Linked DNA regions of Homo sapiens: regions 1, 2, 4, 5 and 6 are each linked to region 3. Evidence: promoter capture Hi-C in 16 types of primary human blood cells and fetal thymus (Javierre and others, 2016). All regions are on one chromosome and are shown on one strand. The core of a region is centred on a gene start or on the middle of the fragment in contact, and the rest is flanking DNA. Distances in the headings are between cores, read along the strand shown.

Evidence for each region. Contacts are between HindIII fragments. The CHiCAGO score rates a contact against its expected background, and 5 or more counts as called.
Region 1: a contact is called between a fragment that was not itself captured here and the fragment with the promoter of ELF2 in region 3, in 1 of 17 cell types (erythroblasts). The highest score is 7.5, in erythroblasts.
Region 2: a contact is called between a fragment that was not itself captured here and the fragment with the promoter of ELF2 in region 3, in 6 of 17 cell types (erythroblasts, M1 macrophages, naive B cells and 3 more). The highest score is 7.7, in erythroblasts.
Region 4: a contact is called between a fragment that was not itself captured here and the fragment with the promoter of ELF2 in region 3, in 1 of 17 cell types (erythroblasts). The highest score is 5.0, in erythroblasts.
Region 5: a fragment that was not itself captured here is called in contact with the fragment with the promoter of ELF2 in region 3 in 1 of 17 cell types (activated CD4 T cells); the score reaches 5.9 in activated CD4 T cells.
Region 6: a fragment that was not itself captured here is called in contact with the fragment with the promoter of ELF2 in region 3 in 3 of 17 cell types (total CD8 T cells, non-activated CD4 T cells and activated CD4 T cells); the score reaches 6.8 in total CD8 T cells.

What each region holds. Positions count from the first base shown.
Region 1 is chr4:139,360,094-139,363,747 of GRCh38, forward strand. It overlaps NAA15 (N-alpha-acetyltransferase 15, NatA auxiliary subunit), which reads left to right. Exons shown (of 20, transcript NM_057175.5): 13 at 407-535; 14 at 1,631-1,844. Among named protein-coding and RNA genes, the nearest start is that of NDUFC1, 59 kb to the left of the region's middle. The HindIII fragment of the contact is 278 bases long and covers 1,112-1,389 here.
Region 2 is chr4:139,341,285-139,345,183 of GRCh38, forward strand. It overlaps NAA15 (N-alpha-acetyltransferase 15, NatA auxiliary subunit), which reads left to right. Exons shown (of 20, transcript NM_057175.5): 5 at 1,542-1,676; 6 at 2,902-3,055. Among named protein-coding and RNA genes, the nearest start is that of NDUFC1, 41 kb to the left of the region's middle. The HindIII fragment of the contact is 3,464 bases long and covers 1-2,987 here.
Region 3 is chr4:139,175,805-139,179,587 of GRCh38, forward strand. It overlaps ELF2 (E74 like ETS transcription factor 2), which reads right to left and starts at 1,414. Exons shown (of 10, transcript NM_001331036.3): 1 at 1,163-1,414. It overlaps LOC105379412 (a long non-coding RNA gene), which reads left to right and starts at 351. Exons shown (of 4, transcript XR_007058273.1): 1 at 351-544. RefSeq lists an enhancer at 385-434, silencers at 1,035-1,994, 2,005-2,384 and a cis regulatory region at 2,751-2,875. The HindIII fragment of the contact is 9,266 bases long and covers 1-3,783 here.
Region 4 is chr4:139,379,886-139,383,332 of GRCh38, forward strand. All of the region lies in intron 17 of NAA15 (N-alpha-acetyltransferase 15, NatA auxiliary subunit), which reads left to right. Among named protein-coding and RNA genes, the nearest start is that of RAB33B-AS1, 72 kb to the right of the region's middle. The HindIII fragment of the contact is 513 bases long and covers 1,184-1,696 here.
Region 5 is chr4:139,404,382-139,408,169 of GRCh38, forward strand. No RefSeq gene overlaps it. Among named protein-coding and RNA genes, the nearest start is that of RAB33B-AS1, 48 kb to the right of the region's middle. The HindIII fragment of the contact is 796 bases long and covers 1,551-2,346 here.
Region 6 is chr4:139,018,860-139,022,640 of GRCh38, forward strand. The region is part of intron 1 of NOCT (nocturnin); the gene reads left to right. Among named protein-coding and RNA genes, the nearest start is that of NOCT, 5.0 kb to the left of the region's middle. The HindIII fragment of the contact is 254 bases long and covers 1,181-1,434 here.

The sequences.
Region 1 (3,654 bases), core at 1-2,500, 180 kb after region 3:
GGACTTTTAAACTGGTTTATATTCATGTACGTTCAGATAAATTTTTTAGGGGTCAAGGGAACTAAAATTTATTGAATACCTGCTATGTGGTGGTGTTCTTTTTCTTGTATTAATCCCTACCCTCAATTATGTAGACCTTTGAAACTACATTTGTGTTTCAAAGTTTCACAGTGTTGAACACACAGTGTGTGTTCAAAAGTTTCACAGTTTCACCTGTGAAACTACAAATTATTTTTAGTAGTTAGAGAATATCAGTTGTTTTCCCATGTTAACTATTCTTTAAGAATGTTTTAAAAATTTTTTTGAAAGAGTCCCAATCAGCTTAACATCTTTGTTTTTTAAAATTCTGTGGTAGAATGATGTCTATGATAAAAAGTGATCTTGAAAATATTTGATTTCTGTATAGGAAGGAACATCAGCGGTAGAGAATTTGAATGAAATGCAGTGCATGTGGTTCCAAACAGAATGTGCCCAGGCTTATAAAGCAATGAATAAATTTGGTGAAGCACTTAAGAAATGTCATGAGATTGAGAGAGTAAGTACCTTCTACATAAAAGTTTTCTTGTTTTATTCTGTCGATGGTTTTGGACAAATTTCATAGTTTTTTTCTCTTCTATTTCTTTATAATTCATAGTAGGTGCTTTTTAAAATCAGTATTCACTTTTTTCAGTTTTCATACTGGAAATATAGACTGCATTTTCAGCCAGGGTCTCTATTGTCTTGTGGTAAGAACTCTTTTTTAAAAAACTTTATGGAAAATTTGTATCTTGGCTATGTTTTTATTGATTTTTGAACCTTCCAAATTGCTGCTGCCGCTTTAGTAGTACATACACAGCTGATTAAAGTACTCCTAGGACCCTGTTCATTGTAGAATTTATTGATGATGCCATATACCCTTGGTAAGATATAAATGTTGGAAGACTTTTCACAATATTTCTTCTGTAGCTTATCTAATTTCATGCTGTTTGATAAAATTGTTTTCTTAATTCTCTTCACGTCTGACTCATTTCCATGACTAGTGGTTGGTTTTTCTTTTTTGTGTTTTACACAGATAAACATAGTTTATATAACTAATTTCACATTTGCAATATTGTCAAGTATAGAATACCAAAGCTTAGTTGAAATGCATCAAGTTCCTGATTGCTTGACTTACTTGCTAATTGATTTCTTTTCCACATACCAGCATCACATTGCATAGGATTCAGATTTGTATCCTCAAAAAAAAATTATCAAATACATCTTATAATCCTTTGCAAATGATTCTAAATATAAAAACTCAATGTTTAACATGTGAGTCTACTTGCACTACTATGTAAATAAATTATGTTTGATGTTGTCACAATAGCTTTAAGTATAATTAAGGAAGGGATAATGAATAAACATTTTTAAAGCTTCCTTTTTCAACAAATGATTCTGTGCCTGCAGTATGCCATATCCTGTGCTAGACAATGGCTAACTGTATTTGCTTATTTGAAATGCAAAATATTCCTGTTGAATAATTGTAATTGTTTTTTTAAAATTTTACTAGTTTTTTTCATGCCAAAGTAACAAGTATTCCAATGCTTTGATTTTATAGTTTTCTTAGCCATTGCTGTACTTCGGTATAATAATAAAAAGATAATTTTGTTAGCATTTTATAGAAATCACTGATGACCAGTTTGACTTTCATACATACTGTATGAGGAAGATTACCCTTAGATCATATGTGGACTTATTAAAACTAGAAGATGTACTTCGACAGCATCCATTTTACTTCAAGGCAGCAAGAATTGCTATAGAGATCTATTTGAAGCTTCATGACAACCCCCTTACAGATGAGAATAAAGAACACGAAGCTGATACAGGTATAATATTCAGAGTTCTTCTTGTGCTCTGATGTGTTTATGTGTATTTATGTGTATTATGTTTTTCATTTAATAGTATTGCTCCATGTCTTGAGCACCACGAGGAAAGATATTATACAAGGTTCTCTAAACAACAAAAGAAAAATGTTTACTTTTATGCTTCCAAAGTTAAACAAGAATTTAATTTGCAGTTATTCATTGGCATTTAAGAAGTTTGCATGTTATGAGTTTTACATTTAATATCTGGTTTACCCAAAATTATAAATTGCTAACTATTTTACAGGTACTAGATTGCTAATTGTATAATTAGTATTATAATTCTACATTAGTGTTGGCTATTAGTATTACTAGTTATTTTTTTGAGATGGAGTCTCGCTCTGTTTCCCATGCTGGAGTGCAGTGCATGATCTCGGATCACTGCAACCTCCCAGGTTCAAGCGATTCTCCTGCCGCAGCCTTCTGAGTAGCTGGGATTACAGGTGCCCACCACCACGCCTGGCTAATTTTGTGTTTTTAGTGGAGACGGGGTTTCACCATGTTGTCCAGGCTGGTCTCGAACCCCTGACCTCAAGTGATCTGCCCACCTCGGCCTCCCAGAGTGCTGGGATTGGCCTCCTAAAGTGCTGGGATTACAGGCATGAGCCACTATTCCCAGCCTATTCCTCTTTTTAATAGTAATTTATAATTAACCTACTAAAAATGAATATTGCTTGAACATTAAAAACCAGCTTGGGATAAAGCTAGGAAAATTGCACAGTGACTTATCATTTGACTCATTTTTAATGTACCGTTTTTATAGTAGGGTATCGGAATGACTAGGGAGAAGTCTTTCTTAGACAGTTATTTGGGACAGAACCTGAGAATGAGTGATCTCATACGTACAAAAATATGAATTTTGTGCCTTACTCATGGCAAAAATGTTGTAGGAATTGGGGCATAAAAAGTGTGTTTAATTTTTTTTTCTTTTAAGCCTATTTCTTTTTTGAGGATATGATTGGCTACTTTCTATATCCTTCTTCCTGCTAAACAGCTTTTGAATTATTTTGCTAATTTGTCGTTAAGTTTTACTTCCTGTTGCCTAAGGACAGTTTAGAAATTTCTAAGGTCACATACTGAAGCCTTTGTACAGATATCACTTGAATCTCTTTCTACCTGTTGGTGTTGCTTCAACTTAGAAGAAAACACCAGTAAGAAGAATCTGCTGGACAATTTACTGTTAAAGTTGAGAGCTATGACCCTCTGGCTTCTTTTGTTTTTCTTTCTATTCTTCTGCCTCCCTCCTTCTCTTCTTCAAATTATACAAATAATACACAATTAACTTTTCAAAGCTGAGACTATTAATACAGAAGTATACTTAGCAAATATGAAGATCCCCTTTCACTTTTCTCCCACCCATTCTTCATTCCAGCAATTATCCCTGTGAAAGGATCAATTCCCTTTATGCACAACTAGTTTCCAGAGTTCTATGTGTACATATACACATGCATTTCAGGATGGTTCTTTGCAGGGTTTCTTGTTTGATTTGTTTTTCTTTAGTCCATAATTGGGTTTATATCATACTCAGTGTTCTGCAACTTAGACTTTTTACCCCATTTAATAGTATTGCTCCATGTCTGCATATCATAATTATTATTTTCACTGTTAACATTTTAGTGACTGTAGGAATCTATGTGAATTTTTTCACCATTATAGTACTATAGTAAATGTCCTTGTACATAATTATGTGCATATTTATTTAGCATGGATTATTAGAAGTGGAAATCGGTGGGTTGAAGGATATGAGAATTTGGGATAAAAGGTTCATCAGTTT
Region 2 (3,899 bases), core at 6-2,505, 170 kb after region 3:
TTGACTTAATTTGATAAAAATTAACATCAGGCCAGGTGCGGTGGCTCACGCCTGTAGTCCCAGCACTTTGGGAGGCCCAGGTGGGTGAATCATGAGGTCAGGAGATCGAGACCATCCTGCCTAACACAGTGAAACCCCATCTCTACTAAAAATACAAAAAATTAGCTAGGCGTGGTGGCAGGTGCCTGTAGTCTAGCTACTCAGGAGGCTGAGGCAGGAGAATGGCCTGAACCCGGGAGGTGGAGCTTGCAGTGAGCCAAGATCACGCCACTGCACTCCGGCCTGGGTAACAGAGCGAAACTCTGTCTCAAAAAAAAAAAAAAAAAAAAAAAAAAGAAAATCAGTACTCCTCAAATAAACAATGCCTTTGTCTAGTATTGACATGTAACTCTAACATTTACTTCCCACATTTTTCTGGAAAGCAAAACAAAAAAAAAATTTTTTTTTTCTTGGAGACATTAGAGTCTCACTCTGTTGCCCAGGCTGGAGTGCAGTGGCATGATCTTGGCTCACTGCAGCTTCCACCTCCTGGGTTCAAGCAGTTCTCATGCCTCAGCCTCCTGAGTAGCTGGGGCTACAGACATGTGCCACCATGCCCAGCTCATTTTTTATATTCTAATAGAGATGAGGTTTCACCATGTTGCTCAGGCTGGTCTTGAACTCCTGAGCTCAGGCAGTCCACCCCACCTTATTCTCCCAAAGTGCTAGGATTACGGGCATGAGCTGCTGCACCTGGCAAAAACAAATGTTTTGTTTCTTCTTTCTACCTCCACTGACTCTAATATATTTTTGTAGCTTCGATTTTAACCCTTAAATTAGTGTTAGATCTATTTAGTTCCTCTTTCATATTCTTTCCTCTTTATGTATGTTAACTCTGTAGTTGGACACTTAATTTTTAAAAACATTTTTGAATATTTTTCCTTTGTGCTGTTCTTTCCATCCTGCCTCTTTTCTGGGACTGAGCAGATCAAGAAATAAAGAAGGGTCTTAAGTTTGGTCTTAAGTTTTAAAAACTTAAATCTGGTCTTAAGTTTTAAAAAAATTCTAAGATTAGCTTGGAGGCTTCATTATGTTCTTAACAAATATTTCTTTGCCTCCATAAAGCTACACAATATGGATGTTTGAAGTATTTTCTATTATTGTTCCCATCATTGTGTTGTAAAATGCTTGGGGTTGTGGGATAAATTAATGTGTGTTTTTTTTTTTTTTTTTTGAGACGGCGTCTTGCTCTGTTGCCAGGCTGCAACCTCTGCCTCCCGGGTTCAAGTGATTCTCCCGCCTCAGCCTCCTGAGTAGCTGGGACCACAGGCGTGCACCACCATGCCCAGTTAATTTTTGTATTTTTGATAGAGACGGGGTTTCACCATGTTGGCCAGGATGGTCTCGATCTCTTGACCTCGTGATCCACCCGCCTTAGCCTCCCAAAGTGCTGGGATTACAGGCGTGAGCCACTGCGCCTGGCCTAATATGGAGATCTTTTAAAGGAGCACTTGCTGTTACTAAAAGCCTAAGAAAAAGTGTTTATTTTTTTCCTTTTAAAGGAAACGAGGTATCAGTTACTTCAGCTTCGACCTGCGCAGAGAGCATCATGGATTGGTTATGCTATTGCTTACCATTTATTAGAAGATTATGAAATGGCAGCAAAGATTTTAGAAGAATTTAGGAAAACACAACAGGTAATAACTAGAAGCCATTTTACTAAGTCTGATCCTAAGTATAACTAAAAAAATAATGTGCATAGTCTGGCTTACTTTTAATTTTGAAATAGTTTCAAACTTATAGAAAAGTTGCAGGAATAGCACAAAGAACTCTACATAGGGGTTCATTCATACTAAACTAATTGTTAATATTTGGTGCATTTACTTTAAAATTTGTGTATCTATTTATCTATTTTAATTTTCTTCCTTAAATGTTTGAGAGTAATTGCAAGACATCATGCTCCTTTACCCCTAAATGCTTTAGTGTGTATTTTCTAAAAATAACTGTATAGTTTTCAGTTCTCTAGATAGTATTATAGGGATAGATTATAAAAATTAGGAAATTTAACACTGATAGACTGTTATCTAATTAATCCCCAGCCCATATTCAGAATTTACTAATTGTCCTAGTTATAGCCTTTCTAGCAATTTGATTTCATTGCAGGATCCAATTAAGAATCATACCTTACATTTAGTTATCATTTCTCTTCAGCCTCTTTTAATCTGAAACAGTTTTGAAAACTTCCTTTGTATTTTATGACATAGACATTTCTGAAGAAGGCTGTGCTTTTGTAGGATGTCCCTCAATTTGGATTTTTCTGATGGTTCCTCATTCTTAGATAGAGTTTTATAATTTTGGCAGGAAACCATATAAATGATATTGGGTCCTTCTGCGTTCATTACATCAAGAGGCACATGCCATCAGTTCGTTCCATTTGATTACATGGTGAAAGTTGTATTTGCAGTTGTAAACGTATTTTTCTCTCTTTGTGTTTAATATGCAGTTTGAGACTGAATAGCCTATTGCTCATCAAACTTTCACCATCTAGTTTTAGCATTCATTGATTATGATTCTTGCCTGAATCAGTATTACTATGATAGTCGCAAAATGGTGATTCTCTTAACTCTAGTCATTCCTTGTAGGTTTATTATTTGGCATTCTACTCCTGAGTAAGAGCTTTCCCTTCTTCCCCATATTTATTGTGTGTAAGGACTTATGGATTATTATTTTATTCAACCTGTTATATCCTAATATTGTCATTATTTACTCAGTTGCTCTGTAGATACTTAAGAATTTTTTAAAAATTAGTTTTATCAACCGGATGTTATCCTTTGACTTCTTACATGTTTTTGAGTATTGTGAACAATTTTCTGATATGAAAATAAAATTCTTACTGTCAGTATTCCTTATATCCATATACAGACATCCCCTGACAAGGTGGATTATGAATATAGTGAACTACTCTTATATCAGAATCAAGTTCTTCGGGAAGCAGGTCTCTATAGAGAAGCTTTGGAACATCTTTGTACCTATGAAAAGCAGATTTGTGATAAACTTGCTGTAGAAGAAACCAAAGGTATTTTTAAAAGAATTGTCATTTATTCTAATATTGAAATATGACAGAGCAAGGCTGAAAAATCTAGTTGCTGCTGACAGTTTCATATAATTCAGCTTTTTGATGATAGGAAATCTATTTCTTACTCGTGTACTTTTAATAGTTTATGATGTGGGAAAATGTACATTTAAACAATATTGTAGATAGAGGAGAAAGTTGATTGTGAACAATGAAAAGTAGTTGAATGAAATGACTCATAACATTCTTTAAATAAAGTATCTTTGTATTAAAAATATTATGGAATTTGATCAAAACACAAGAGACAATTAGTTTTATAAGACAGAGGATGACATTTCTTAGAAACAGTTTATTAATAAACTATAGTGTATGTAGTATGTGCCAGATTTATTGCTAATAATATATATTGATGAATCAGTCTTTACTAAAATACATATAGGATATTTCTGAGAGTCTTTATGGTTAATCTGAATGTCTTCGATGACACAGAAAGAATATGAGTTCTGGAAGAAAGGGAGACCAGAGATTTGGGTTCATAATATGTAGATTGTGATAGGAGGGGTAGATCCCACTCAGCAGAGGGCTGAGAAAAATGAGTCTTAACAGTTTTAGAAGTTGAGGGCGTGATTATAGAAAATAAAAGAAGAATAACAAGTAATGAAAGGACAAGTGATTTTTTAAAAAATTACCTTCTGAAATGCTGCTTTGTCCTTGCTAGTCTAGGGAACTGAAGTTTGCTGGTTTCACATTCCCTTGGCTCACCTTGAGGTTGAACACAAAAAGTATAATATACATCCATGTGCATAATAGGTATAGCCATTGTTTGCCAGATAAACTTTTGTCGGAG
Region 3 (3,783 bases), core at 164-2,663:
TACAATGACGTGTCCCCCTCTTCCTCATTTAATGAAGTACTAAACTTAAAGGCTATTCTGCAGCGAATCTGCCTCCTAGAAAGAGTCCATCCAGGATGCTGGCAGAGGGAAAAAGATTAGAAACTGTGCGATCTGGATTATTCTTGGTGTCACGGAATATTTTTTGAGTCCTTTATGGACATGGAATAAAAATGCCCAAATGGAGCAGAAGAGAGGGCTCGGCTACCCTGATCACAAAGCTCCTGGGGTAGAGTCAGCATCCAGCCCTGGCAGAGCCCTCCCTGTCCTCCTTCCGCGCCCCTAGACCATCCCGTCGCGCGGTCCCTGAGGACCAGCTTCGCGAGGATCCAGAAGGCGGTCACTGGACGTGCCTGTTACGAGCCCGTTTTTGTTTTGCTTAAGAAACAGATTCCGATCCGAGCAAAGCCTCCCTACCTCCCGGGGAATAGGGGGAGATGGCAGCACGGTGCCGGCGTGGAGAGCGAGAATAAAAGAACTGCCGAGTACAACCTGTCGTGCAAGCTAGCAGCGCCGGGAAGGAAAGGTAAGCGGCGGCGATAAGGCACGACAGGGAAGGAAACTGGTGTCCAGCGCCCCCCCCCGCCTGCCCGCCACCCAGAGCGGCCGGAGCCTCCCAGGTCCCGCCCCGAGCTCGCCGCCCAGCCCCGGCGCCGGCCGCAGACTCCCGCCCTACACAAACCCTCCCAGGACGCGCTTCCTCCGGAGCCGGACCCCCGCCCTGGCCTCCCCGCGGGATGAGGCGGGTCAGTTCAGTCCGCTTCTCGGCAGAGGTGACTCGCGCAGAGATGTAAACACGGAGAGACCAGCTGCGCTCGGCCCATCCCCCCCGCCGGGGTCTGTAACCTCTTCCCTCAGCCCTGCCCCGCGCCCCGCGCTCCCCGCGGGCAGGCGCGCAGCGCGCCTTCCCCTTTCTCCAAGTCCCGCTCCGCGACCGTTGCCTGGGGACACTCAGCCCCCTTCCCCCAGCCCCCGGCCGGTGTCACCGCCGCAGCCGCCGGAAAACCCCTCCGCAAACCCCGAAGCAAACAACACAAGCGCGGGGCGGGGGCGCGGAGGGAGGCGGCGGCAGTCGGGACAGCCAGGCTTTATCGCCGCGCCCTTCGCGCTCCCTCTCACCAGCCTCGGCTGCCCGCGCTCTTACCTGCTCTCCGCGACGCCTGGGAAGACCGCGGCGTCCTTTTCCCTCTCAGCAGGGCCGCGGACTAGCCGCCGCCGTTGGCCGAGCGTCCGGAGGGAGCCGGGGCCTCCCCAGCAGCCCGAGCCGCTCCACAGGGAGAGAAGGAGACAAAACAGAGGCTCGCCGCCCCGCGCAGCGACCCCCGCCCGCGCCGCCCCACCGACCCCCAACCGCCTAGGCGACGGCGGCGACACAGAGCTTGGCGCTGGGAGCAATGGTTGCCCCCGCCCCGCTCCGCTCCCGGCCCCCTCCCTCCACCCCCCGCCTCGGCTCCTCCCCCTCGGCCTCCTGCCGCCTCCACCAGGACACTGGAGTCCGCCTCCCCCTCCCCGCCAGCTCAGAGTGCTCCTCCCCTCCCCACGCGGCGGGGGGGCGGGGGCGGCACCGCCAGTCACCGCAGCGCCTGTCAAACGCGGGCCGGCTATTTATACCCCGCGGGGCCCCGCCGCCCTCGGGCCCCCACCAGCCCGCCGAACCTGCTTCTTTTGCTGTCTTGAATCCCGCCCTCTTCTCCTCGCCCAACTTCTCCCAAACCCGCCTTCCCAGGTAAAGACGCTCGTCACTTGTCCGGCTCCTTGCCCAGGGCTCCCCGATCTCGCTCTCCACTCCAGCCCCGGATTGGTGCAGGGGGCTCTGCCGCACGGGGCAGGCGTGTGAGGCCGATGGGGCCGCGCGTGCACCTGCAGCGCCCGCCGGCTTTCCCCCGCCGGCCGGGACCGCACGCACACACCCTCGCCACTCAGGGCCCCCGCAGGCCCCGCCGTCACCGCATCCCCAACTCAGGACTCTCGCCCTTCTCCGGAGACGGCCCCACAGTCGGGCAGTCTGACAGTTACAGGGGGGCGAGGTTTTGCAAAAACTCCTAGCCCGGTCTTTCCAGTTCCCACTCCTCAGCCTTGGCTTAGTGAAAGGTGGGGGTTCGGGCAGGAGCGCGACGCCGGCCCCGCCCCGGCCGGTGACGCACGTGGCGCACCGCCCCGCCAGCCTCGCGCCCCTCGGCGCCGCCAGCTCCTCCTCCCCGCTAGCAAAAGCCGGGCGTAGTACACCCGCGACCCCGCCCCATTCCCAGAAATTACCACCCGCCCAACAGCCCGGCCGCGCGGCGGTTGGTGCCGGCGTTTGCTGGCTGTCGGGTGGCTGGGCCCAGCGCGCAGCTGCGGAGCGCGGCGGGCGGCCCCTTGGAGCTGCCCGGGGAGCTGCGGGCACTCGCACCTAGCCATTGTCGCTCCTTGCGCGGTCCGCAACGGAGAAGTAACTCAAGTCTGAGTGTTGTTGGTGCGAGAATGAGAGAGTGTTCTGGTGTGGGAGTATTTTGGCCCAAGTGCCTGCGAATTCGAAAACGAAAACCCAGCAGTGGCTGCACGCTTCTGGTTTCCACACTTTCACACAAAGGGGAGCCTTCGAGCGGGGCACTCTCACGCGCCTTCAAGTGCACAAAAGCCAATGACACGGTGCCGTGGGTTGCCCTGTGTAGGAGCGTCTCTTTAATGGGCTTTGTAGGCACAGTTAATGCATACAAACGCCTCAGTCTATTTCTTCACCACCACCATTCCCCGCCGCGGCGTTTTCTGTATTTGTTTCTTTAACAAAGAGCACAGCCTGTCCGGTGCGCGCGGGGCTCCTTTTGCTCCCCTCCAGGGCTCCTGCAGCCTCGCCGCGATGGACCTGGCACCTGGCGCGGTATTCACCAGCTGATTTCTGGGCTCCAGCGTTACCCTTTTTACGGCTTCACAACCAGTCTGGAGCAAAGAAGAAACACTGAGGAATATAAGTGATAGCTGTTCTCTTGAAAGGGACGTGGGAACCGTGGAAATCACCCTAGAGTAAGGCTCAAATGTCAGAAAGCTGCAGGAGGCTCCAGATTTAAATCCCTGAAGAGCCTAAGAATGTAATGATCTCTTTCTTTTGTTAATACTGCTGTTGCCTCTATTTTCTTGGGGGTGAGTCTTCTCTTCCTTTCTTAAAAAGCAACTCTGGGCCGGGCGCAGTGGCTCACGCCTGTAATCCCAGCACTTTGGGAGGCCCTGGAGGGTGGATTGCCTGAGGTCAGGAGTTCGAGACCAGCCTGCCTAACATGGTGAAACCCCGTCTCCACTAAAAATACAAAAATTAGCTGGGCGTGGTGGCACACGCCTGTAGTCCCAGCTCCTCGGGAGGCAGGAGAATCGCTTGAACCCCGGAGGTAGAGGTTGCAGTGAGCCGAGATCGCAACACTACACTCCAGCCTGGGCGACAGAGCAAGACTCCTTCTCAAAAAAAAAAAAAAAAAAAAAAAAAGGCCGGGCGCGGTGGCTCACTCCTGTAATCCCAGCACTCTAGAAGGCCGAGGCGGGCGGATCACCTGAGGTCAGAAGTTCAAGACCATCCTGGCTAACACGGTGAAACCCCGTCTCTACTAAAAATACAAAAAATTAGCCGGGTGTGGTGGTGTGTGCCTGTAATTCCAGCTACTCGGGAGGCTGAGGCAGGAGAATCGCTTGAACCCGAGAGGCGGAGGTTGCAGTGAGCCCAGATCGCACCATTGCACTCTAGCCTGGGCAACGAGAGCGAAACTCCGTCTCAAAAAAAAGCAAGTCCGAGGGCTC
Region 4 (3,447 bases), core at 190-2,689, 200 kb after region 3:
AATACAAAAATTAGCCGGCCATGGTGGCACATGCCTGTAGTCCCAGCTATTCAGGAGGGTGAGGCAGGAGAATCGCTTGAACTTGCAAGGCGGAGGTTGCAGTGAGCCGAGATCACGCCACTACACTCCAGCCTGGGCAACAGAGTGAGACTCCGTCTCAAAAAAACAACAACAACATCGTTTTGACTTTCCAGAAAGATTAGACTTAAATTATACTACGCTTGTCCAAAAACTAATTTGTGTTACAAAAACTGAATTGTAGAAGTGTTTTTCCTCAATTTTTAAAAATTATGAAAGTAATAATGTAACCATATTGTAGAAAGTAAAGGAGAGAATTGCTGTATTTAGTAGTTTGTTTCTCTTTAGTTTTTTTGGGGGGGGGGAGTATGAAAAATAACTTTGCAATCATGGGTCAGAAAATTAAGGATAGAAATAATAGTTTTAATTTATTCTCAGTTAAGATGGAGTATATGTATTTTCAAAATGAAGTATTTTCAAAAATAACATACACACTGTTATATACTTTATACATATTTTCCTGAAAGGTAGTAAAATAACCTAAATCCTTTTGAGTTAGATACTTTCTTTTGAAATACAAATTAAAAGTGACATATTTAAATGTATTTGCTTATAATCAGTATGTAGATTGATTAACATGAGTGTTTTCTTTCAGCAGTTGGTTTCAGAAAATTAAAATACACATGGGCTTAGAATGATTAATAATTAGTTAGAATTACTGAGTATCTATACTGGCTATACCCATTGCTCTTTGTGTTCAGCTGAAATCGTCATCACTTTACAAAGTGATCTAATTTTGACTGACTTTAGGCAATGAAATTAGGTTGTGATTATTTGCATTGGTAAAGATCTGTCTCTTAAAAAGCCTTTAAGAAGTTGGGTAGACTGCTTCATTGCCTTTATTGAAAACGGGTGTACTATAAAGGCATATGTGAAAATACAGATATCCAAATAGTGGCATCTTTGTTATACCCCAAGGGTTTCTTTAACTAAAATATTTGGTACTTTAAAAAAATATGTAATTTAGAAGTAATTTCTCAGGAATACATTTGTCATGTTAAGATATACTGTTGTAACTGCTTCTTTACAAAGAAACCCTCACAGACACCTTTCTGGAGAGTATAGAGGAAAACAGTGCCTCCATACCTATTTCATCAGTTGCGGAAGCTTTGCTGAGTGAATATGGATTTTAGCATGGTTACTGGCACCCTCCAAATCTCTAGAATATGTTGTTATACTAACAATGTTATTACTAAATGCTGCATGCAGTTATTTACCATATAGGAGCACTGTCTTTTTCTTATTATGAGGATGATATATTTAATACCCTTTTAAAGTTTTTTATGATTTTAAATTTTAAAGTTGTAGGACTTAAAACAATTACATTTCTGGTCAGTGCTAAGTAAAAGATAGGTGCTTATATATTCTATTTGTCTTATTATTTTCTTAAATGTTTATATTCTCCTAACTGCTTTTAAAATTAGCACTATTTGGCTGCCTTGATCTACAGTGAAACTTAGGTCTTTTTCCTCTCCCATTTGCACAAACTCATTTTTCTTTGATCTGCAGATATGTTTTTTATACTTATGTATGTCTCCTCCAACCTTCTTTCATAATCTAATTTGTTTATTAAACCTTGTTTAATACTTACTAAATTATTAAATTTTTTATTTTTTTAAGCTTTGTTTAATTTTCTCATTTATTTTGCCGTTTTTGAGTTGTAATCACTTACTCGGTTGTACTATAACCTAGTAGTGAACAGTCATTACCTCACACAAAATAAGAACATTTTTTACCCAAATTATTAACAATGCCAGCTAGCCTGAGAACCCTGTGCAATCCCTTTTGCTAAGAATCAGCCACCTTTTCATTGTGTGTTTTAACCATTGGTGCTTGCTTAATTTATTCATTCTGTTAATAAGCTAATAGCATGAACCAAACATTCCAGTTTAAGATGTCAAAGGACCCAAATCAAAAACCCCTTAGAAAAGGTTTTATATTCCCCTTCTCGCTCATCAGTTATTACTTTTCCTTGATTCTCAAGACTTATTACTCTTTCATGGAAGGTAATTGAGTTAGTAGGGGATTTGCTACTTTCCTGAGGCCTTGATGTTTTTTGTCAGTTTTACCACATTCAAAGGCTTTTTAGAGTTTTTCTCCCCTGCCCACTAGTCTTTAGCAGTAAATGGACATCTGATAATCTGTGACATATGATGTTGCTCCTTTTCTTAAGGGTACACATAAAATTTCATTACACAGAATTCCATAGGACATTCTGGGTTTTACTGCAGTAGAATTTTTTTATCCTTTTTGTAATTGATATTTTCCTGGAGGTTAACAATTCTAGTTTTCTGGAACTGTAATTTCCAGGAAAATATCCAGAAAAGTTTAGGAGAAAATTAGTAGGCCTCAAACTTTTTGGAATCAGCTGTTAGTGAAGTTATTTGCTTCAGTTTTGGTAGAGTTTTTTTTAGCAGTTTTAATTTTTCTGGGAGATTGTTTAATCTGATTAAAACAAGTTAAAAAAAGATAATGAAAACCATAAAAACCCCTTGCCTACCCCTCTCTTCATCAACTATGATACAAACTATGCAGATATTTTTTACATGTAAAGTATCCTGAAAGCATTTCAGGCAAACCAGCAAGGCCTATGTAAATAATTTTTATTGTACAGAAGATACATTCTTTTTGAGATAATTAATGTCATTGCAGTTGGCTGTAACCTATTTTAATAACTTTTTTCTGTTTCCTCTCTATTCCTGCTTTTCCACTGAAAAACAAGTATTGATAGATTGACAAAACCAAGTTGAAAGTACAGCCATAGTAGAGGTTAAACTAAAGTATTTCACTATAGCTCATTTACTTGAACCACCCAGTTTTATAGAATAATAGAAGAAATGCTATTTAACCAACAAAGAGCATGTCAGTGAATTATTCAGCTAATAATTATGTATAGAATATTTCACTTAGAAAATGTTTCCTACTGAGTTCATTATATTTTTTAAACTTAGATTAATGATCCATTAGCAGGATAGTGGGTCATTACCAGCACTCAAAAACCCAAAATAAAAATAGAATAGTGTAGAAAAGATCAGCATATGTTGCACACAGTAAGTGTTCTGTGAAACTTTTGCTTCACATAAGTTATGGATATGGAATATGTATTTGTCGCAGTACAAATACCTGATTAAAGTGAAAATTTGAAAGTCATCACCATAGTTCCCAGCCATAAGGAAAATCTACGTAATGTTTTCACACTATGATAAAAATAGTAACTATGATTTATTGACTACCTATTACATAATTAGCACTTTTACACAGTAGCTTTTCCTTACTGTAAATCTTTTAGATTAGATATCACCCCAGTTTTATAGATCAAGAAATAGGTTCAGAGAGGTTATGACTTATCCAAGCCTGGATCCATACCCA
Region 5 (3,788 bases), core at 699-3,198, 230 kb after region 3:
TTAAATTTTTTTGTAGAGATGTGGTCTTGCTATGTTGCCCAAGCTGATCTTCAACTCCTGGCCTCAAGGGATCCTCCCGCTTCAGCCTCCCAAAGCATTGGGCTTACAGGTATGAGCCAACATGCCCTCTAATCTATTATTCTCTAATAAAAAGTTGGGCAATTTCAATCTATAGGAATAAAATAATCATTTTACCTTATGCAGGGTATTTAGTCATTTAACTATGATAGTTTATAGGTAATCATATAAGCACTTTTGGCTTAATCACTATGATTATATGTCCTGGAAATTAAGACACATACACACTCTGATTTTATTAAACTTTACACTGAACTTTTAGATTCAACATTAGATGGTTTAAAAGACAAAGGTGATGTCTCTCAAAGAGAAGTTTTTTTTTTTAAAAAAAACAGCTTTATAGGGGTAGAATTTACATAAAATAAGCCGTTCATATTAAAATATACCACTGACACGCACAGAGTTGCGACCTCATCCTTACAATCAAAGTAGTAAACATATCTATCACCCCAAAAAGTTTCCTCATGCCTCTCTGTAACGCCCCCCTCCTACCCTTCTCAGTACCTGCCCTCAGTTTTCTGTATGTGTAGATTAGTTTGCATTTCCTAGAGTCTTATATAAATGAGATCATATAGAATTTATCTTTTTCTGGGTCTGGTTTCTTTCAGCACAATTACTTTGAGATTCATCTGTGTTGTTGCATGTATCAATGGTTAATTCCTTTTTATTTTTGAGTAGTATTCCTCTAGTGTTGTAGAAAAACTAATTCTGAGCTTCCTCCTGCTAGTGGAAGAAATTACTACAATTTGGGACTTCTGTCTCTTAAACATTTAAATGAGCCTTTCTGACCAAAATAGGCTGATATTAATCTATATTAATATTGTGCCTGTGTGTGCTTTCATTGTTGCTAATGAAAATTTCAGCGTTAACTCTACAAATTGTGTGGTCAAAAGGATCACACAGAGGCTGTTTGTTAAAAATACATTCTTTGAAAGACAAAAGAAAGGGCTACTTTCATTGTTGTACAGTATCTTTCCCAAGTGGAACATCGGCGTTATCATAAAGACTGGAAATCGGCTTTCCATCCACCTGTAAACAAACAAGAACTGGGTTATTCCTAATCCTTTCCTATGCAAAGCCTTTTCTTATATCTCTCACTCTGGCTGAAATATTATTTCCTCTCGTCAACTGAGCAAATTCTGCCCACTCTTTAAGGATTTTCTCAGCTGGATATAAGTTCTTTCTTCTCTGATCTTTCATAACACATTCCATCTTTCTTTTAGTCATATGTAGTATTATCTTAAACTTTTTTGAGTATTTGTCTTATTTTTATATTGTTATAAGCTCTTTAAGGGCAAAGTGTATGCCAAATACATAGTAGGTACTCAAATATTTGCTGCATGAGTAAATAAACCTACCAGTAAGAAGCAAGAAAGTTATAGATAGTTCCATTTTTAGCCTACATGAGAACAGTGATAAGATTTCAAAAGGAGCATATCCATTGAACACTTCAATACATTTGGAGCCACAGAAGCTTTACATAAAGCCCCTAACCAACATTAAAAATAAGAGGATGAGAGAATTTTTACCTATACAAGGCTAGGTACAGGGATAGGAAGTAAATGATTATATTGTTATATACTGGCTGGATTCATTTTATATTGGATGATTTTTTTCATCTTATATGCCCCTACCATACCAAAAGTACCTATTCTAGTACTTAGGCCACAAACTTGGAATGTAGTGGAGCATAGTATCATGGTAAAACCCAGGCCGAATTTGGGCCAGGTGAACAAGAGCACAAAGGATTGAGGGTGTTTATGAAAAGTTGGATCATGAAACCTAGATCATGCATCTAGGCTGATTTAAGGAAGGAAGTGGCAGAAGAGGGCTTTTAGTAAGAAAATGGATGAGCTAAAGGAATGGACAAGATTGAAATTTAGGATAAGGAAGTGGCAGAGGAGGGCTTTTAGCAAGAAAATGGATGAGCTAAAGGAATGAACGAGATTGAAATTTAGGATTTAAGAGGTGATAAACCACCTGGTTTGTAACAAACTTAGATTTAGCTATAGAATAGACCAAAGAACAGAATAAAGTTGTGACAAACCACCTAATGTTGGCAAACAGGTACAGCCATAGAATAGACCAAGTGGAATGTGTTAAAGGGTATCAAATTGAGAGGATTCAAGGAATTGGAGACTAGGGCTGTTCACATGGACAGTGAGGTCATCTCAGATGATGATGGGACCATAAACCAGAGAGAAGAATAACTAGTAGCTTAGTAGATGACAGTAAGAAGCAGTAGAGAGATGGATGGTTGAAAATGAAAGCTTGAGGCTGGGTGTGGTGGCTCACGCCTGTAATCCCAGCACTTTGGGAGGCCGAGGTGGACAGATCATCTGAGGTCAGGAGTTCGAGACCAGCCTGGCCAACACAGCGAAACCCCGTCTCTACTAAAAATATAAAAATTAGCCGGGCATGGCGGCAGGTGTTTGTAATCCCAGCTACTCGGGAGGCTGAGGCTGGAGAACAGCTTGAACCTAGGAGGTGGAGGTTGCAGTGAGCCAAGATCACGCCATTGCACTCCAGCCTGGGCGACAAGAGTGAAACTCCATCTCAAATAAATAAATAAATAATTAAAAAAAAAATAAAAGCTTGAAAGGAGAGGGTTTTCTACAAGGGTGAGACAAATTAACAACTTCCACCCAAGAGAGAAGTAAGAAGATAATTTTTCTAATGGAAAACAGGTTTCTATTTCAGGCCAGAGATGGAAAGAATATTCTGTTAAAAGGGTGAAAATATGGGTAGGCACAGTGGCTCATGCCTATAATCCCAGCACTTTGGGAGGCTGAGGCAGGTGGATTGCTTGAGTTCGAGACAAGCCTGGCCAACATGGCGAAACCCCGTCTCTACTGAAAATACAAAAATTAGCCAGGTGTGGTGGTGCACACCTGTAGTCCCAGCTACTCGGGAAGCTGAGAATTGCTTGAACCTGGGAGGCAGAAGTTGCAGTGAGCCGAGATGGTGCCACTGCACTCCAGTTTGGGCGACAGAGTGGGACTCTGTCTCCAAAAAAAAAAAAAAAAAAGGATGAAAATACAGGTGAGTTTGTTTTGAATAGGCTGGAGTTCCAGAAAGCCCAGGAAAAAGGAGAGCAGAAGTAAGCAGAAGGGTTTGGGAGAGCTTGCAAAGCTCTCTGGGAAAGGAGAGCCACCTGTAGAGGCTTGTATTTGGAGAAGTGCTGAATATGATAGGGAACTGAAGATTAACTGGCCTTAGAGATCTCATGGAATTCCTATGAAAAGATGTTTCAGGACTGGTCCAGGCAGAGGCATCAGAATTGTGAGGAAGAGGACAGTTGGCAAGTAGGTCTGGGATGCATTTCTTTCTGCCCTGGCTGGTATTAGAGACATAATGCTATTAGCAACCTTTGTTTAAGGTTTTTTCATTTACTCAACATATAGTGATTGAGCATCTCTTCTATGCCAGGCATTGTGCTCGATTCTGGGAATGGAGTTACAATGGTAATAGAGATACACCCCTTCCCCAAAGAAAACATAAAATACAGTGTGAGGTATAGACCAGTAAACAGTATTCTGATGGGGGAGTTCAGGGTGTAATGGGAATATAGGCAGTGAGGGTGGCACATATACCCAGATTTAGGAAGTGAGGAACGCTTCTTGGAGGAAGTATTGAATAAACTGGGGCCTAAAGTGTTAGTATGAATTAGCCAGTTGAGAGAGGGTCAAAGAGCAAGGGAAAAGAAAGTA
Region 6 (3,781 bases), core at 58-2,557, 160 kb before region 3:
CTGGCTCTTGAAGCATGGTTAGGATTGGAAGAGATTACTATAAAGCGTTTTGTTTGGAAAAAGCAGGAGTAAATGCAGAAAGGCATGAGACACACACAGATGAGGAAGGGTGAGAGAAGAGGCACTTTGCAAAAATGGACATTGTTTTCCAAAGAGCCTCAGACCCAGCACTAAGTGCTTTTTAATTTTAATTTTTATTTTTATTTTTTTTGAGACAAGGTTCTCTCGCACTGTTGCCCAGGATGGAGTGTAGTGGCGCCACCTCTGCTCACTGCAACCTCCACCTCCCAGGCTCAAGCAGTTCTCCTGTCTCAGCCTCCTGAGCAGCTGTGACTACAGGCACACGCCACTGTGCCGGGCTAATTTTTGTATTTAGTAGAGACAGGATTTCAACGTGTTGCCCGGGCTCGTCTCAAACTCCCCAGCTCTGGTGATCCACCTGCTTTGGCCTTCCAAAGTGCTGGGATTACAGGTGTGAGCCACTGCGCCCAGCCTATGAAGTGCTTTTTTAAAATGCAGATTCTTGGATCCTACTGTAGACCTATTAAGTCTGAGTCATTCATGATGGGCCCTGGATTCCACATAACCAAATGAAATGACAAAAAGAATAACTCCAGATTGTTCTTCTATGCCCTCAAATTTGGACATCTGGCACCCATATGTGAGAGAGACATTGAAGGGGCCAAAAGCTCCTCTCCACTCCTGAGCCTTGTGGTGGGGAGTAGTGAGTCCCGACAGCTGTCCACATTTGCTAATCAGTTCCTGCATAACTTATGCCCCTTGGCAATTGGTAGTTATTGGGAAGATAAGTACAGTCCCTTTGGAGTTATCAGATTCCAGGTTGTTAGAATTAAAAGGTGACCCTAGGGATGATCTCGGTGTTTGGCTTTCTTTTCTCAAGGATAGCAGCCCCCCTAAGAAGTAGCAGTTGCCACAGTTACTGTACTGGATGAAACGCAGTTGGAAGTCATCTGTGGATTTATAAATGCTATCCTCCACATCCCTCCTCCTCAGAGAATGAAGAGCTGGCTGAACTACTGTTCTCTACCATTAGAACATTTGCTTTTTTTCATGGTACAATTTATAGGCAAATGCCACCAGCTCATTTGAGAAGGCAGCTTTATTTAATATGTCCTTTAACTATGTGAGTAAACTGCTTATGAGAGAGAAGAAACGGGAAAGCTTGTCATTATCAAGCTGCTATGGAATAAATTGCTTTCCTTGTGGGAAAACTAATGTATGATTTTTCTGTTAGCATTCAATGGCAACAGTTTAAACATGGTGAACTGGGGTTCTTTGGGGTTAATAACCATGGCTCCAGATTCACATTCCACACACTTAACATTTGTAAATCATTTAACCTTGCTTGCTGTCTCAACACTAGACTTTACCTAGAACAAATGAATAAGATCAATTGATAGCAATTTATCCACAAGCTTTATTGAATAGTACATGTAAAAGGTGACATGACTAATTGCAGTGGGAGTTGAGAAGAAAGAAATCAGTGTGGCTGAATTTGTCAAGAAATGCTTTGCTTCTAATAGGTGAAAAAGGAGGGTGTTTTGGAAGGGGACAGTTTGCGGGGTGGTGGGGGCAGGCAGAGAAGACCACACACACAATGCCTGGAAGAAGGTGGCGCTCGCATGCAGGAGCTGTGGCAAGCATCTTAGGAAAAGGGGTAGAGGCAGAATCATTTGGGACAGTTGTTAAAATGCAGATTTCTGGCCTTTCAGCCCTCTGCTTGATCAGTTTCCTGTGGAGAAGCCCGGTGGAGTGCATATTTAACAAGTGCCTCAGGGGATTCTTCCAAAAAGATTAGGGAGTATTTATGAGCTCTGCCCCTCCTTTCCCCAAAGGTACTTATTCCTGGAAAGCTTGAGAAGCTCTGGAGAGGATTCTGGAAGAGCCTTAAGACCTTTGGTCTGGCCGGGCACAGTGGTTCACGCCTGTAATCCCAGCACTTTGGGAGGCCGAGGTGCGGATCACTTGAACTGAGGCATTCAAGACCAGCCTGGGCAACATGGTGAAACCCTGTCTCTACTTACATTAGAAAAAAAATAGCCAAGTGTGGTGGTGCACACCTGTACATCCCAGCTGCTTCGGAAACTGAGGCAGGAGAATCACTTGAACCCAGGAGGCGGAGGTATCAGTGAGCCGAGATTGCGCCATTGCACTCCAGCCTGGGCGACAGTAGGAGCAATACTCTGTCTCAAAAAAAAAAAAAAAAAAAGGATCTTTGAGCTTGGGGCCTAAGGCAGTTCAAGAGACCCCTGAGAAAGAACATTGACCCCCGAAAAAAGCAGCTTTAAAAAATTGTATATTTTGTCGAGACGGGTTTTGCCGTGTTGCCCAGGCTGGTCTCGAAATCCTGGGCTCAAGCAATCCTCCCGCCTCAGCCATCCAAAAGTGCTGAGATTACAGGCATGAGCCATCACGCCCCGCCAAAAGCAGCTTTTAAGAAAGGGAAGAAATTCCAGGGCCGGGCACAGTGGCTCAAGCCTGTAATCCCAGCACTTTGGGAGGCCAAGGCAGGCGGATCACCTGAGGTCGGGAGTTCGAGACCAGCCTGACCAACATGGAGAAACCCCATTTCTACTAAAAATACAAAATGAGCTGGGCGTGGTGGCACGCACCTGTAATCCCAGCTACTCTCAAAGAAAAAAAAAAGGGAAGAAATTTGCATATTAATGAAAGTTCAGTGAGAGGAAACTTGAGACTGAGGTTGTAATGGGAGTGTATCCATGTAGTCACTCTAAGTCACAACTTAGAGTAAAATGAGGTTTCTATGATGTTTACTAAAAGAAAAGTGAGGTAATTGTGTTCTGGCTTCTTGGAGTTAGGAAGGGAGATACAGCGTCTGTATTTGCTGTCAGGAGTCACTGGTGACTAATTACAGTTTTTCTGGTTTTTTTTTTTTTTAGACAGTTTTGCTCTTGTTGCCCAGGCTGGAGTGCAGTGGCGCAATCTTGGCTCACTGCAACCTGTGCCTCCCGGGTTCAAGCAATTCTCCTGCCTCAGCCTCCCAAGTAGCTGGGACTACAGGCATGCGCCACCATGCCCGGCTAATTTTTTTGTATTTAGTAGAGACAGGGTTTCACCATGTTGGTCAGGCTCCTCTCGAACTCCTGACCTCAGGTGATACACCCGCCTTGGCCTCCCAGAGTGCTGGGATTACAGGTGTGAGCCACCACGCCCGGCCACTAATTAGAGTTTATAGGGCTTTGATAGCCACTTAAGTGGTGGTTATACTTCAGTAGATAATTAGAAATTTGAAGGACAGTGTGCCTGGGCGTTTAGCCTCATAGTAAACCTGTTTGGACTTCCACGGAAAGCAGCTAAGATACTTTTTATTTATTGTTATTCTTAGAATGGGAGAAAATCAGCCTTCCCACGGAGGGAGTGAGACCTCAAGTGAAAACCTTAGCTGTCCTCTGTATCTATGTGGCCTCAAAGCAACACTTGAATCATATATTAATACTTAGCAAGAATTCAGTGTCAGGTATGTGGGCAACAGTGCCCAGGGGAAAGAAGGCTAAACAAAATTGGTACCATCCAATTTGAATGTCCTTATAACAATTTTTTTCTCCTTCCAGTATATAAAAAAATGCGTGGGTCCCATTCAGATCTTCTGGATTTTAATATCTCCAAGTGGGGCCTGAGCATCTGCTGATTCTGACATAGGCTCCGGGTAGACAACAGCCACATATTGACAACACAGGCGGACACCTGTGAGGAGGCTCGTTTTACTAAATGCTTAGAAGCCTATTCTAAGTCTCTCAGT